4 separate regions of the Homo sapiens genome follow, and all the other regions are linked to region 3. The links are contacts of gene promoters, found by promoter capture Hi-C in blood cells and fetal thymus (Javierre and others, 2016). All regions are on one chromosome and are shown on one strand. The core of a region is centred on a gene start or on the middle of the fragment in contact, and the rest is flanking DNA. Distances in the headings are between cores, read along the strand shown. Region 1 has its middle 75 kb from the start of LINC02725. Region 2 overlaps LINC02725 (long intergenic non-protein coding RNA 2725). Region 3 holds the start of FLI1 (Fli-1 proto-oncogene, ETS transcription factor). Region 4 overlaps LINC02725 (long intergenic non-protein coding RNA 2725).

Region 1 (2,971 bases), core at 355-2,854, 670 kb after region 3:
GTGTTTAACCAAAAATGATACCATAGCCTAGCCAAGCTGACACATAAAATTAACCATTACACACTGTTAGATTTTTCTGCAACTACTTGTTTGTGTCTCCCAGCTCCTCTAGAATATGAACTGCTTGTGGGCAGTGATCCTCACATTTTAGTCTCATTGTGATCATAATAAACATCACTTCCTTTCACATATAAAACTGTGAGCACTGCATCTACTGTCAAAAAAATGTGTTTCAAGAGCAACATGCTCAGTGCATAAGGCAGGCAGCAGGGAGGAAACTAGAAATGACTCAGCTATAGTCTTTGACAGCAGTGAACTGATTTTGCAGTGGATGAATAAGCCCCTGGCTTCAAATATGAGAATAGGTTTCCTCGAATCAGGTCCAATGCCTCTCTTTGGCCAGTCGACTGCCCCGAAGCAGGCTGGGTGCATCCTGTCATTCCAGGGCCCAGGAACCAAATTCTGAGGGAGGGTAGCAGCTCTCCAACCTACTATCAACACCTGATGGGGTGCTCAGAATGCACCCCATCAGGTGGCTGATGGAAGCACTACAAGATGGTCTAATTCTACCTAGAACTTATATTAACTTCCTTTTTGACTGTTTCCCTCCCAGTTCCCTTGATGTTCCTTGGAGCCATGAGGGGCAAAGAGGTGGCCCCTTGCTGCCCACTAGGTGGTAGTGGAATCCCACCTCTGTCACACTCAGCACTTTCTGCTCTCTCAGCCACCAAAGTCTGATGACAAAACTTCTAATCTGCTGCTGGGAATTTCAGGTTAACTGACTAAGTCACTTTAATTTTCTTGGGAAAATAGTTGCAGTCACACAAAAGATAAGAAGAGGCTCCTGAGCCCCCGACACCTGCAGTGTGAGGGCAGCCCAGCCTTTCACAGCCCCAGTACAGAGAGAAACTTCTTCTCCTGCTGCCCAGCAGACACACATGCCCCCACCCGCAACCCCACAGTCAGGTCAAAGCTTGCTCCTGGCACAATCCGTGTTTACTTCCACGTCTCCAAACCTGGAAGGATGGCATACTTTGTACCTGCTGATGTCAGCCAATGACCTCTCAGCCTCTCTGCCTTCCTCGCCTGCTGCTGCAGGGAAGGCAGGTTGCAAGGGCAGAGCTGATCATAAATTCTAGTGATCTTCTGTAAGATCATTTGCAGCATCAGACTCTTTAATAGACTCTGCTTATTCCTGCGGTGTAGGCTCAAAAAATTTAAGTAGTAAAAATAAATAAAAATCTCATGTCAGTTAAACATAGAGATATGGGCTTTAAAAAAAATCTTTCCCCTCCTCCTTATGTTTTTTCTTCTATGAATGTATTTATGTAACCTCTGCAGCTAAGATTTTTGAAGGGCAAACTTTCCCTAGACAGGGACAATTTTTAGTTTTAGTTAATGCAGTGTACAGGATAAGCAATGGTGCCCTGTGCAGAGTTAGCGCCCATAAATGTCAGTTGATGCTGCCACTACCCTCTGGAAGTTTCATAGAAGAGCTCCTTTCTCTTTGTGACTTCAACGTCCTTCACCTACAGGATCTCATTTTCCACTTACTGTGATAACAAAGGGCCATGGATTATTATCTTCAATTTACAGGTAGGAACAATGTGTCAGGGAAAGATGATCTGCCCAAGAATAGAGAGCAAGTCAGTGATCAGCTGACCATTTCTCTGTTCTTGCAGCAGCCCTCAATGTCTCTTTCAGTGAAGTGCTAACCTGTCACCCCCAAACACTGTACTCATAGAAAGTAGCATCAGGATCTCTTGAAACAGACTGGAGGCCTGGACCATGCACCACCTGCTCTCTGCATGGCCGCTGTTCTCTCCTCTTGTCTCTTTTCACTGCTTCCTAGTCACCAACAGGGCAGATAATCAATGCAGTCTTCTGGTAGATCAATAGCCAACAATATTTCATTACTGCCGGAATCAGGTTGTTCCAGCAGTCTATTGCCGATTTCCCCCAAGTTAGAACATTTACAGGATGGAGCATGGTTCGTATCCAAGCTCTCCACACAATTGACCTGAAACTCCAAGCCTATGTCAGCCTTTGGGCCTGGGAGTTATAAAGCTGGCCTGTAGAGTAATAGTGGCAAAGGACTCAACATTGTGCAATTGCAGTAAGTTCCACCAGCTGATACTCTATTCTCCTTCAAGGCTCCACTCATGTCACCTAGGAGAGACCTTCTGTTAATCTTCCACTTCAGTTGATATTAATTGATTACTCCTTGAAGCTTACATAACATTTAGTGAATATTTCTGTTTTGAAACACTCCGCTTTTGTGTGTGTGTGTGGGTGTGTGTGTGGCAGAGTCTCGCTCTGTCGCCCAGGCTGGAGTGCAGTGGTGTGAACTTGGCTCACTGCAAGCTCTGCCTCCCAGGTTCATGCCATTCTCCTGCCTCAGCCTCCCCAGAAGCTGGGACTACAGGCGCCCGCCACCACGCCTGGCTAATTTTTTTTGTATTTTTAGTAGAGACGGGGTTTCACCGTTTTAGCTAGGATGGTCTGGATCTCCTGACCTCGTGATCTGTCCGTCTCGGCCTCCCAAAGTGCTGGCATTACAGGTGTGAGCCACCGCGTCCAGCCGGCGAAACATCTCTTATAATGCCTTATAGTAGAGGTATTTACCCAAAGTTCTTTTGCGTTGCTCCCAATGTTAGAATTCTGATGTCCTAAGGAATATGTACATATCATATTTACTTTGTATTATCTCTGGAGTCAGCACTTTGCTTCTCCCTAGGACAATGTTATAGGACAATGGACGGCACATATCCATAGAAAAGCTTCATAAACGCTTGTTGGATGGAATTAATTATCTGAACTAGATGCATAGCTTTTAGCCATATCTAATTCGTTCTGAATTTGGCCAGATTAATCTTCCTAAAACAACACTGTTTTCATGTAATTTCCCTACTAAAAAAAGTTCTGAATATTCCTCACTGCCTAATAGGACTAAGTTTAAACAAGGGGACCT
Region 2 (3,090 bases), core at 135-2,634, 540 kb after region 3:
ACCCAGGCTGGAGTGCATTCTTACGATCATGGCTCAGTATAGCCTCAACTTCCCAGGCTCAAGAGCTCCTCTTGCCCCAGCCTCCCGAGTTGCCAGAATCACAGGCATGCACCACCAGGCCCAGATAATTTAATTTTTTGTAGATATGGGGTCCCACTATGTTGTCCAGGCTATTCTTGAACTCCTGGACTCAAGTGATCCTCCTGCCTCAGCCTTCCAAAGTGCTAGAATCTAAGCTGTGTTAGATCTAAACTAAATAGGTCATGGACCTACTGTGGGCTCTCTAGCATGAAAACAAAGAGGTTAGATTTAAATCTGCAGCCCTTGTATTTCATTGCCACTGCTAATCTGCCAAGCTGACTGCCTTGTGATCTATCCTCCTGTTTAGGGCTTGACAGTGCTTCTGTTGACTCTGCTTATTTATCCTTCTTTTGGCCCTGACTGAGCCATTTGACTTGCTGGTGTGCAGTTGCAGCTGGAGGGCAGTTTTCTGTGGCCCATTTGTCAGTGGTTCAGAGAATTTAACATCCCTCAGTGCAATGACAGATTTTGCCACCTCACCTGGAAATAATAGAAAACTGTTTCCACAGACCCCATAAGCACATAAGGAAAGGCCATTGAAAGCTTATGATGAAAGTGAAGGTGAATATTTGAAAGACCTAAGAATCCTCAAAAAAAAAAAAAAAAAAAGGATGTAGAGCTGTGGTTCTCAAACTTGGATGCACACTAGAATCATCTGGGGAGCTGGGGAGATAGCCCAGGCCCCAACCTAGATCAGTGGTTTGCCCACTTTAGCACTCATCTGAGGCCCTCAGACAGCTTGTTAGAACTGGCTGATAGGCTCCACCTGCAGAGTATCTGGTTCAGCAGGTCTGTGGTGAGCTCTGAGGATTTTAAAGACTAACAAGTTCCCAGGTGAGGCTGCTGATCTGGGGATTTTACTTTAATAAACACTTCCCTACACTAATTACGTCAAAATTTCTGGGTCCAAGATCCAGACATCAGCACTTTGTAAAGCTCCGTAGGTGATTCCAATGTGTAGCCAAATTTGAGAAGTGCGGAGAGAGAGCAACTCAGATACCAGAACTAGTAGCTATGACAGACCTTTCCCATTTCTAATCTTCTCAGGAGGATGCATCCTAAATGATTTGATCATTAAGTGACTAGGTATCTGCTTCTGTGGAATGTGCAATTTAACTCGAAGGACACTACAAACTCACCACCCCAAAAATATTCCTTCCTATGCTTCTTTCATCCTCTCCCCTTTCCTTGACTAGTTACCTAAGCTTCATGGGTCACCTATGCCTTAATCCCTGTGTCTTAAAGACATTGCAAAGGTCAGCCTGAGCTCCCTGATGGATGCTGGTAGGAGTGAGTTCAGAACCCAGCTGTATGTTCCCACCTCCCCTCCCTGTGCTCTAAAGACACTTCTGGATGAGAGAAGAGAATAGCAGGGTAAAATACCACCAGTCACAAGCTTGTTCTTATGGTTTTCAGTAGCCCCAATCACCCTCAGAGAACCAGAATCTCTGGTCATGGGGAAACTTTGCATTAAGCAGGGAATAAATTCTCACCCTCTGGAGTTAGTGGGATGATACGTGGTAAGATGAACTCAGTAGATGTTAACCTGATATTTAATCATGAGTTACAGCGAGTTAATATTAGTTTATCTGGTATATGACCAAGCTCATTATACACATGTTCTTATTCAATTCTCACAGCAACCTTATAAGACAGACATTAGGTTTCTATTTTCTAGAAGGGGGCACTAAGTTTCAGTGAGATGAAATAGTTAGCCAAAGGTCATAAAGCTGGGCTTCCTACTCACATCCGACCTGCTATACCATTGAGTGTTAGTGAATCCTGTTCAAAGCACAAGATAGCGGGGAATTGAGCAGGGAGCTATGGCATGGCGGGTACTGAAGCTAGAGCTATTTTTGTTAGAAAAACTGTTAACCAGGTTCAGGAAGCAAGGCCAGGAATGAAAAGGAGGGCACTGCTCAGAAGACCATGCTTCTGACTTCATACTTTGGCTTCAGGCCACCTTCCTCCACTGCAATAGTACCTGTGCAATGAAAAATCGAATACAACGAAATTTGTAAACATATTCTCACTAGCTAAAGATGTTGCTAACATGATGTAGCAGTAATGTATGTATATACACGTGGATGGGATTGTAAAATCTAGAAACATGTGCAAATGCTGGTTTGTGGCTTGTTCTTTTGAAAATTCTGTTTCTATTTCAACCTAAAAATTTTTTCATGTTGGCAAATATTTTTCTAAGGTATGATTTTTAGTGAGTGTATTTTATTATATTATATGCATGTGTTATATTTAACCAATTTCCTATTATAGGAGTTTAGTTTTTATCCATTTGTCCTTTTTATAAAACAAAGTTATGACAAAGATTATTTACACAAATATCAAATTCTACATTCGTACTTTTTATGTAAAATTCCTCTAAGTTGAATTTGTGGGTGTTATGTATGCATATTTTTAAGGTTTTTTGATACCTGTTATTAAATTGCTCTGTAGAAAGTTTGTTGTTGTTGTTAAAGCAGTTTCCCACCTGTGTTGTTAGAGGGTGCCTATTGTTGCCAACCTTGAAAACACTGGATATTCACACTTTTAAATATCAATTGTGTAGGTAAAAATGGTGCTTCATTAGAATTTTTTAAATCAGCATCACATTCTTTGAGATAATTAAAAAACAAATTTAACCACATAGGCTTTCTCTATTAGTCATAGGTTTATCAACCCCATTGTAATGACGAATCTTTGTTAAATATAATTTAGACACGGTAACCACTGAGCCACACTTTCCCTTTATGCTAACTTCTATCTTACCTCCTTGATTAACTCTGGACTTTCTGACTTAGAACTTGTAGAGTGTCTGTGTGTGTGTGTGTGTGTGTGTGTGTGTGTATGTGTGTGTGTGTCTTTGCAGCGGTGGGGTGTCACTTCCCCAAACCCTTCATGTTTTGGAATTGAAGAAAAGAATATTTTCTGCTTAGGAAAAGCAGCATTTCTGTTTGGGTCCTCATTCCTCTACAACCTCCCACCCCCTTGTTAGCCACCTAATTTGCCAAT
Region 3 (2,761 bases), core at 152-2,651:
TCGATTCTTTCGGGTTCTGGGGAATGGCGGGCTCTGCCAGTCCCCACCTCGCCAGCCTAATAGTTTTTCCAGACAGACTCCCGCTTGGTGTTGCGCGGCAGCCTCGAAGCTAACCCCTGGTCCCATTCATTCCCCTAGGTCCTCTAAGGCCCGTCACGTTAGGGGGTGTCCCTCCTCTCTGCTCCTGGCCCTACTTGGCGAACCCTTTCAGAGACAGCAGTCAACTTTTCTGAAGTGAGACGCGAACCCAAACCCTCACCTTTCCGCCTGGGTTGCACTTTGCAACCTAGACCCAGGCTTGGCGGCGGCGGCTGGGGTGGGAATGGCCGGGCGGGCGCGGGGCGCGGGCTCACAGCCGGCCCCTGCAACGGAGGCGGCTCCGAAGGACGCAGGACCCTTTCGGAGGCGACAGCTCCAGGAGCCCTGGTCCTGGAGCCGGCGCACGCCTAGGCGCGAAGGGCGGGGGCTCGGGGCGCTAGGGATCTGTGCGGACGGGGGCTGGGGAAGGTTCCCCGCCGGAGAGGCGGCGAGGCCGGCCCAGGAGTCCCGCGGAGCCGGCGGCTCTCCAGCGCCTAGAGCCGGGCGACTGAGTGCCGAGAGGAAGGGAAAGCGCTGACATGTAAACAGGGGCTTCCATCTGGAGGAGCCCGCTCAGATAGATCCCCCGACACACTCACTTGCACCCCTACCCTCGTGCAACGAGGCCACTTACCCACCCCAGGGCCCACCAGGCAGGGACCCGAGCCCGGGCGACTGCAGCCCCCGCCCCCGCCGTGTTCCGCCTCTGCGGAGAGGAAGCCCAGTGCCTAGCGCTGGGGCCACGGGAGCCCCGGGTGTCGGTGGGAGTGGTGGACCCCGAGGTCTCTCGCCCTTGACTCCGTTCCGTACCCTGGGGTCCCCCGGTTTCCCGCCGTCCCCTCCTGCAGCCCCGGCGGGCAGCGAGGTGGGAGGGGGGCCGGGGCTCCACTTTGGGGGCTGGGATTTCGGGGGAGGGTCGCCCTCAATGCGGGCGCCTGGCCGGCTGGCCCGCGAGTAGGACTCGCCACCCGAGCGCCGGAGGAGCCGGCGCGAAGCCGGGGCGCGGAGGGAAGGGAGAGAGGCCACGTCTTCCGGGACGCGGGCCCCGCACCTACCCGCCCGCCGCTTCGCCTCCCCGGCCGGTCCCCGCCGCCCGCGTCCGTTGCCCCGCCGCTTACCTTAATAGTCCCGTCCATTTGGCCAAGTCTGCAGCCGAGCCCCCCAATATTCCACACATTGACCCGGTTACAGCCTGACCTCGCAGCCCCTTCGGATTAGCCCGGCGCGGCCTCCCTGGCGCCCTGGGCCCTCCCTGCGTGCCCCCTGCGAGCGCCCTGCCCTCACTCCCCTGTGCACGTTTGTTGTTGTAGCGGAGCGAAAGAGACAGTTAACCGGATGAAACTTTTTTTTCAGCTAATTTTGGGAAGTGACTTCACTTTGCGAATCGGGGAGGAAGTCCTATCTCTCTCTCTCTCTCTCTCTCTCTCTCTCTCTCTCTCTCTCTCTCTCTCTCGCCTCGAGCTCTCCTCTCTCTTCTCTCCCCTCTGCTCTCCCTCGTCTTCCCTCCCCCCCCACACCCCCTCTTCCTCCCCTGCTGGTCCTGCTTTTCGCATCACACACTATATAAATATACGCGGAGATGCCCAGACACATTCATGCGCTGCGCACACAGGATACTTGCTCCTGGGAGATAAGAGCTAGCCGGGAACAATGACGGGGTCCACGCCCAGCGTCCGCGCCCTGATTCCCGAAGTCTGAACCTCCCCCCATCACCTTCCCCCAAAATCCAAAGCCAAAGACCTTTGGCTTCTTTGCTTTTCCTGAGGCGGTTGGCCGAAGGTGGCCCTCCTGACTCATTCACTTTCCGTTTCTTCCCACAGATACGTTCATTAATGCTTTTTCCAGCCGGAGACAAACTTTTTGGGGGTGGGGTAGGGGGGGTATGGAGGGAGAGTTGGCTAGGGCTGCGGGTAACCCAGCGCCTACTGCCGGGGAAGACTCGGACGAAAACCGAGGCAAACCAACCATTAAAAAGTGCATCCAATAAGAATTTTTCCACTCAGGCCCTCCGCTGCCGAGACGCGGCAGACTCCCAGAGCGGCTCACCCACTCATCGAAGCGGATTCTGGGCGGTTTCGGGCTGACCCGCGCTGTCAGGGCGCGGACTCCATTCCGGGCGCATTGTTAGGAGAAGGGGCCCCTCGGGGCGGCGCGCCTCGACCCTGGGCTCCCGGTGCCCGCAGAGGGCGGAGATCCGCGGCGCCCTAGGCCACCTATCCGCATCTTCTCGAGCCAAACCCCCAGCGCTTACCCGGACCCGACGGCCCAAGCACTGACTCCCAGGCAAGAGTCGCCCTTCCTGGTCCCCAGGGAACTGACACTACCGCGGGACGTTCCCTCTAGGACAGTCAGCAGGTCCCAGGAGCGCAGCACGCAACAGCGCAGAGCAGACCCAGACTTTTCCCGGGGTGAGACCCGGAGGCCCGCGCTCTGGACCGTCCTCCCTACCCAGCCTGGAGGCCGGCGTTCCCCGGCCCAACCCGGAGACCTCCCCGCCTCCCTCCTGGGCCGCCGCGCGCCCCAGTTGGAGCAGCCTCGAGGGGCTGGGCCCTTTCGGCCGGACTCCCTTCTCCCGGACATCCAAAACAGGTTACCTTGTCCACGCTCTCCGGACCACGCTTTGGACTTGCTCACTTTTATTTAAGAGTCCGACGGGGGAAAGAGGGAAAAAAAATCCAGAGGA
Region 4 (3,116 bases), core at 550-3,049, 530 kb after region 3:
AACCCCCTCTGTAATCTCACTTTCCTCCATTCCCCCATGATTCACACTTCTGTCTACTTTGAATTTCTCTGTTGTTATCCCTTTCTGAACTACCTCTCCCTCCATTTTCTGCCTAGTAAACGTTTCTTCATTATATAAGACTCCCTATAAAAGTTCGCAAATTTCTTTAGGATTTTCCAAAGATCCAAGACAGAATAAGTTTCAACTTTCTCTGGGATTTTATATAGTTTTGCTCATTATTTTATTATAGCATCTACTGAGTCTTATATTAAAATTCTTCACCTATACTAAGTCATGTACTAGATCTAAGAGTCTTTAAGATAGGGATCTTACTGATTTGTTTTGGTCTTCAAGCTTAGTATATAATACATAATAGGACTTTCATAAGTGTGTGATGAATGAATAAATGAACAATTCTAAAGGATAATGACAATAACACTGGACTGTCATTGGTAAACTTGAGTTCTAGACCCACCTGTCACTTCCACCTTGAGGTCTCAGACAATTTAACCTTATTAGTCCCAGATTGCTAGCATGCACAATGAGTACTTCAGATTTGGTAACTGCCGAAGTCTTTTCTGTTGTCCGATCCGTGAAGTTGCGGCTCTTGAGTAAAGCTCATCAAGGCAGACTTTCTGAGAAATTCCCAATGCAACAGGTTTCAAGTAATTAACCAGGAAAGACTCTTCCAGAAGTGGTAGCTCAGCACATACTGAGAGTAAATACCATGTTAGTGATGAAGAGATTGGAATTTCTGCAAAGAATTGATTCTGATCTTGAGCCTCTTACTAGTTTGGAGAGATCAAAATATTGGACACATTGCCTATTGTTATTTACTTGAGATTAGTTAATGGAAATCAGAGAATTTAGGGGCACATAATGCTGCCACATGAATAACTGACTTGATTCTTTTATAAACCATTCAGATTGAATTCCATGAAAAGCAAATTCCTACCTACTTTTCCAAGGATTGAATCCAGAGTGTTTTCTTAGACGGTGTAACCGGGGTGCACGGGGCAGTGAGCTAAGGTGCAATCTTCCGTCTGTGTTGTGCTTTACACTTGTTCTCACTATGCTTCAGTTTAAAAGGGACCTGAAATCCAGGAAACAGAAGACTGTGGTCCCCTGAGTATCCAGCTTTCCACTCAGTATCTCTTCGTATCTAATTGGCATGCCAAAGTTTACATGGCATCAACAAAACCCTTGGTTGCCCCACATATCCAGAATTTACCTCCACAAGTATTTGCTATTTAAGTAAATGCCATCATTATCCACTCAATTTCTTAGAACAAAAATTTACAAGTCATTCTGGATTCCTTGATTTCCCTCAATTCCCATTATCCAATCATCAGTCTGCTATTCCATTTCCATTAAAATGTATTCTGAAACCAACTACTTTTTACTCTCTCTACCGCAACCACCCTTTCCCCAGATACTGTGATCTTTTAGCTAATGTTATCACCTCTGCAGTAGCTTTTCTGCCTCCACATTTGCTCCCTTACATAGGATCTGTTCTACACGCAGCAGCCAGAGAAATCATTCTAAACTACAAATCAGATCCTCCTATGCCCATTTAAAAGTCTCCAGTGGCTTCTAAGTATGTTTTGAACCTGACTCTTCCCATGGCCTGGTCATTCTAACATTATCTGGCTTTGCCAATGCACCCAATTCATCTCTCTCTCTTCCTTCTTGTTTCTCTGGTTTACTTAGTTTTATCCATGGTCTTTTGTGATGTCCCCCCATTTTTTTTTCAGAAATGTCATCTTGCTCTGTCACCCGGAACACAGTGACGTTTCTTAAAAAAAAAAAGACATCACAAAAGGATGGAGTGCAGTGCTATGGTCATAACTCACTGCATCCTCAAGCTCCTGGGCTCACACAATCCTCCTGCCTCAGCCTCTGGTGTAGCTGGGACACAGGTGCATGCTACTCACCTGTCCTGATGTCTTCAACATACCAAAGAAATTTCTCATCTCATTACATTTGTACTTATGGTTCCTTCTGTGTCAAATGCTCCTCTTACATAGCTGGCTTCTCATCATTTAGGTTTCACCTTCATGAGGCTCCTCCTCATGAAGAGCTTCTCTGATGCTCCTCCTCATGAAGAGCTGCTCTGATGCTCTCTAAAACAACTGGTCCTGTTACAGTCAATGTCTGTCAAAATCACCCCGTTTCATCTTCTTCATAACACTTATCAGTACCTTAATGATCTTATTTCTTGGTTTATATATTTATATATTGTCTGGCTCTTTCCACTATAATGCAATCTCTTTGAAGATGGAGATTCTGCCTTTCTTATCAAATGTTGTGTTCCACACTTTTAGAACATGTTTATCATGTCTCAAGTCATATAATAATATACATTACTAAATATTTGTTAATTAACTGACTAACCAAGTTTTCCTATTGTTATATATGAGCAATAAAGAAATAGAAATAAAACAGCTAATTAATGAGGGTTAGATAGTCTCCAAAACAATATAGAACTATTTGGTTTAGAAAGGAAACTTGTAATAGATGAATAGAGACTAAATGTACACAAGACCCTTTCACATTGTCTCCTTTTTCTGTTTGACAAGGCTTTATAGAGATATTTACAAGAGTGAGAACATCCTAGATAGATGGATAGATTGATAGACAGACCTAGTAATTACCTAGCAGTAGCAGCCAGTATTAATATCAGTATCAGTGTCAGTATTTACTGATCCTGCTAATATCCTAGAGTGTCAGTATCCTTTTCTGATAATCAGTATCAAATTATGGATATTAGCTATTAATAATAATTATTATCGGTATCAGTGTCAACTATCAGTATCAATAATCAGTAATTACCCAACATCAGTATCAATATCAGCCAGGGTCCCAAAAGGAAATGGACAGCACATTAAAATGAAGTAATTTGCAGACAATTTAATAAAGAGATTATTTACAAGGATACGGGGGGTGGGTGGTTAGAAACAATAGGAGGGACTCTGATGCTAGAGATAGGAGGGATGATTCTCACTGCTACGCTGGAGAGTGACGAAGTATTTACCTGACAAAACACTTACACTTCTCCAGAGAGGAGTGTAGACAGAGGGCCTCCTGACAGCAGCTGCAGCCTTCCGCAGAAGATC

Evidence for each region. The method cuts DNA at HindIII sites, captures the fragments that hold promoters and counts their contacts. A CHiCAGO score of 5 or more calls a contact.
Region 1: a fragment that was not itself captured here is called in contact with the fragment with the promoter of FLI1 in region 3 in 1 of 17 cell types (total CD4 T cells); the score reaches 5.3 in total CD4 T cells.
Region 2: a fragment that was not itself captured here is called in contact with the fragment with the promoter of FLI1 in region 3 in 10 of 17 cell types (total CD8 T cells, activated CD4 T cells, total CD4 T cells and 7 more); the score reaches 15.0 in total CD8 T cells.
Region 4: a contact is called between a fragment that was not itself captured here and the fragment with the promoter of FLI1 in region 3, in 14 of 17 cell types (activated CD4 T cells, total CD8 T cells, total CD4 T cells and 11 more). The highest score is 24.1, in activated CD4 T cells.

What each region holds. Positions count from the first base shown.
Region 1 is chr11:128,019,542-128,022,512 of GRCh38, reverse strand. No RefSeq gene overlaps it. Among named protein-coding and RNA genes, the nearest start is that of LINC02725, 75 kb to the left of the region's middle. RefSeq lists a silencer at 2,315-2,513. The HindIII fragment of the contact is 1,257 bases long and covers 976-2,232 here.
Region 2 is chr11:128,149,307-128,152,396 of GRCh38, reverse strand. The region is part of intron 2 of LINC02725 (long intergenic non-protein coding RNA 2725); the gene reads right to left. Among named protein-coding and RNA genes, the nearest start is that of LINC02725, 55 kb to the right of the region's middle. The HindIII fragment of the contact is 191 bases long and covers 1,289-1,479 here.
Region 3 is chr11:128,692,712-128,695,472 of GRCh38, reverse strand. It overlaps FLI1 (Fli-1 proto-oncogene, ETS transcription factor), which reads right to left and starts at 1,401. Exons shown (of 9, transcript NM_002017.5): 1 at 1,197-1,401. The coding sequence starts at 1,214. SENCR (smooth muscle and endothelial cell enriched migration/differentiation-associated lncRNA) reads left to right here. Exons shown (of 3, transcript NR_038908.1): 2 at 2,082-2,761. RefSeq lists silencers at 370-499, 550-769, 810-859, 1,080-1,449, 2,133-2,272 and 1 more and a cis regulatory region at 1,181-1,913. The HindIII fragment of the contact is 9,137 bases long and covers 1-2,761 here.
Region 4 is chr11:128,167,190-128,170,305 of GRCh38, reverse strand. It overlaps LINC02725 (long intergenic non-protein coding RNA 2725), which reads right to left. Exons shown (of 6, transcript NR_183639.1): 3 at 3,051-3,116; 4 at 960-1,093. Among named protein-coding and RNA genes, the nearest start is that of LINC02098, 40 kb to the left of the region's middle. The HindIII fragment of the contact is 2,885 bases long and covers 357-3,116 here.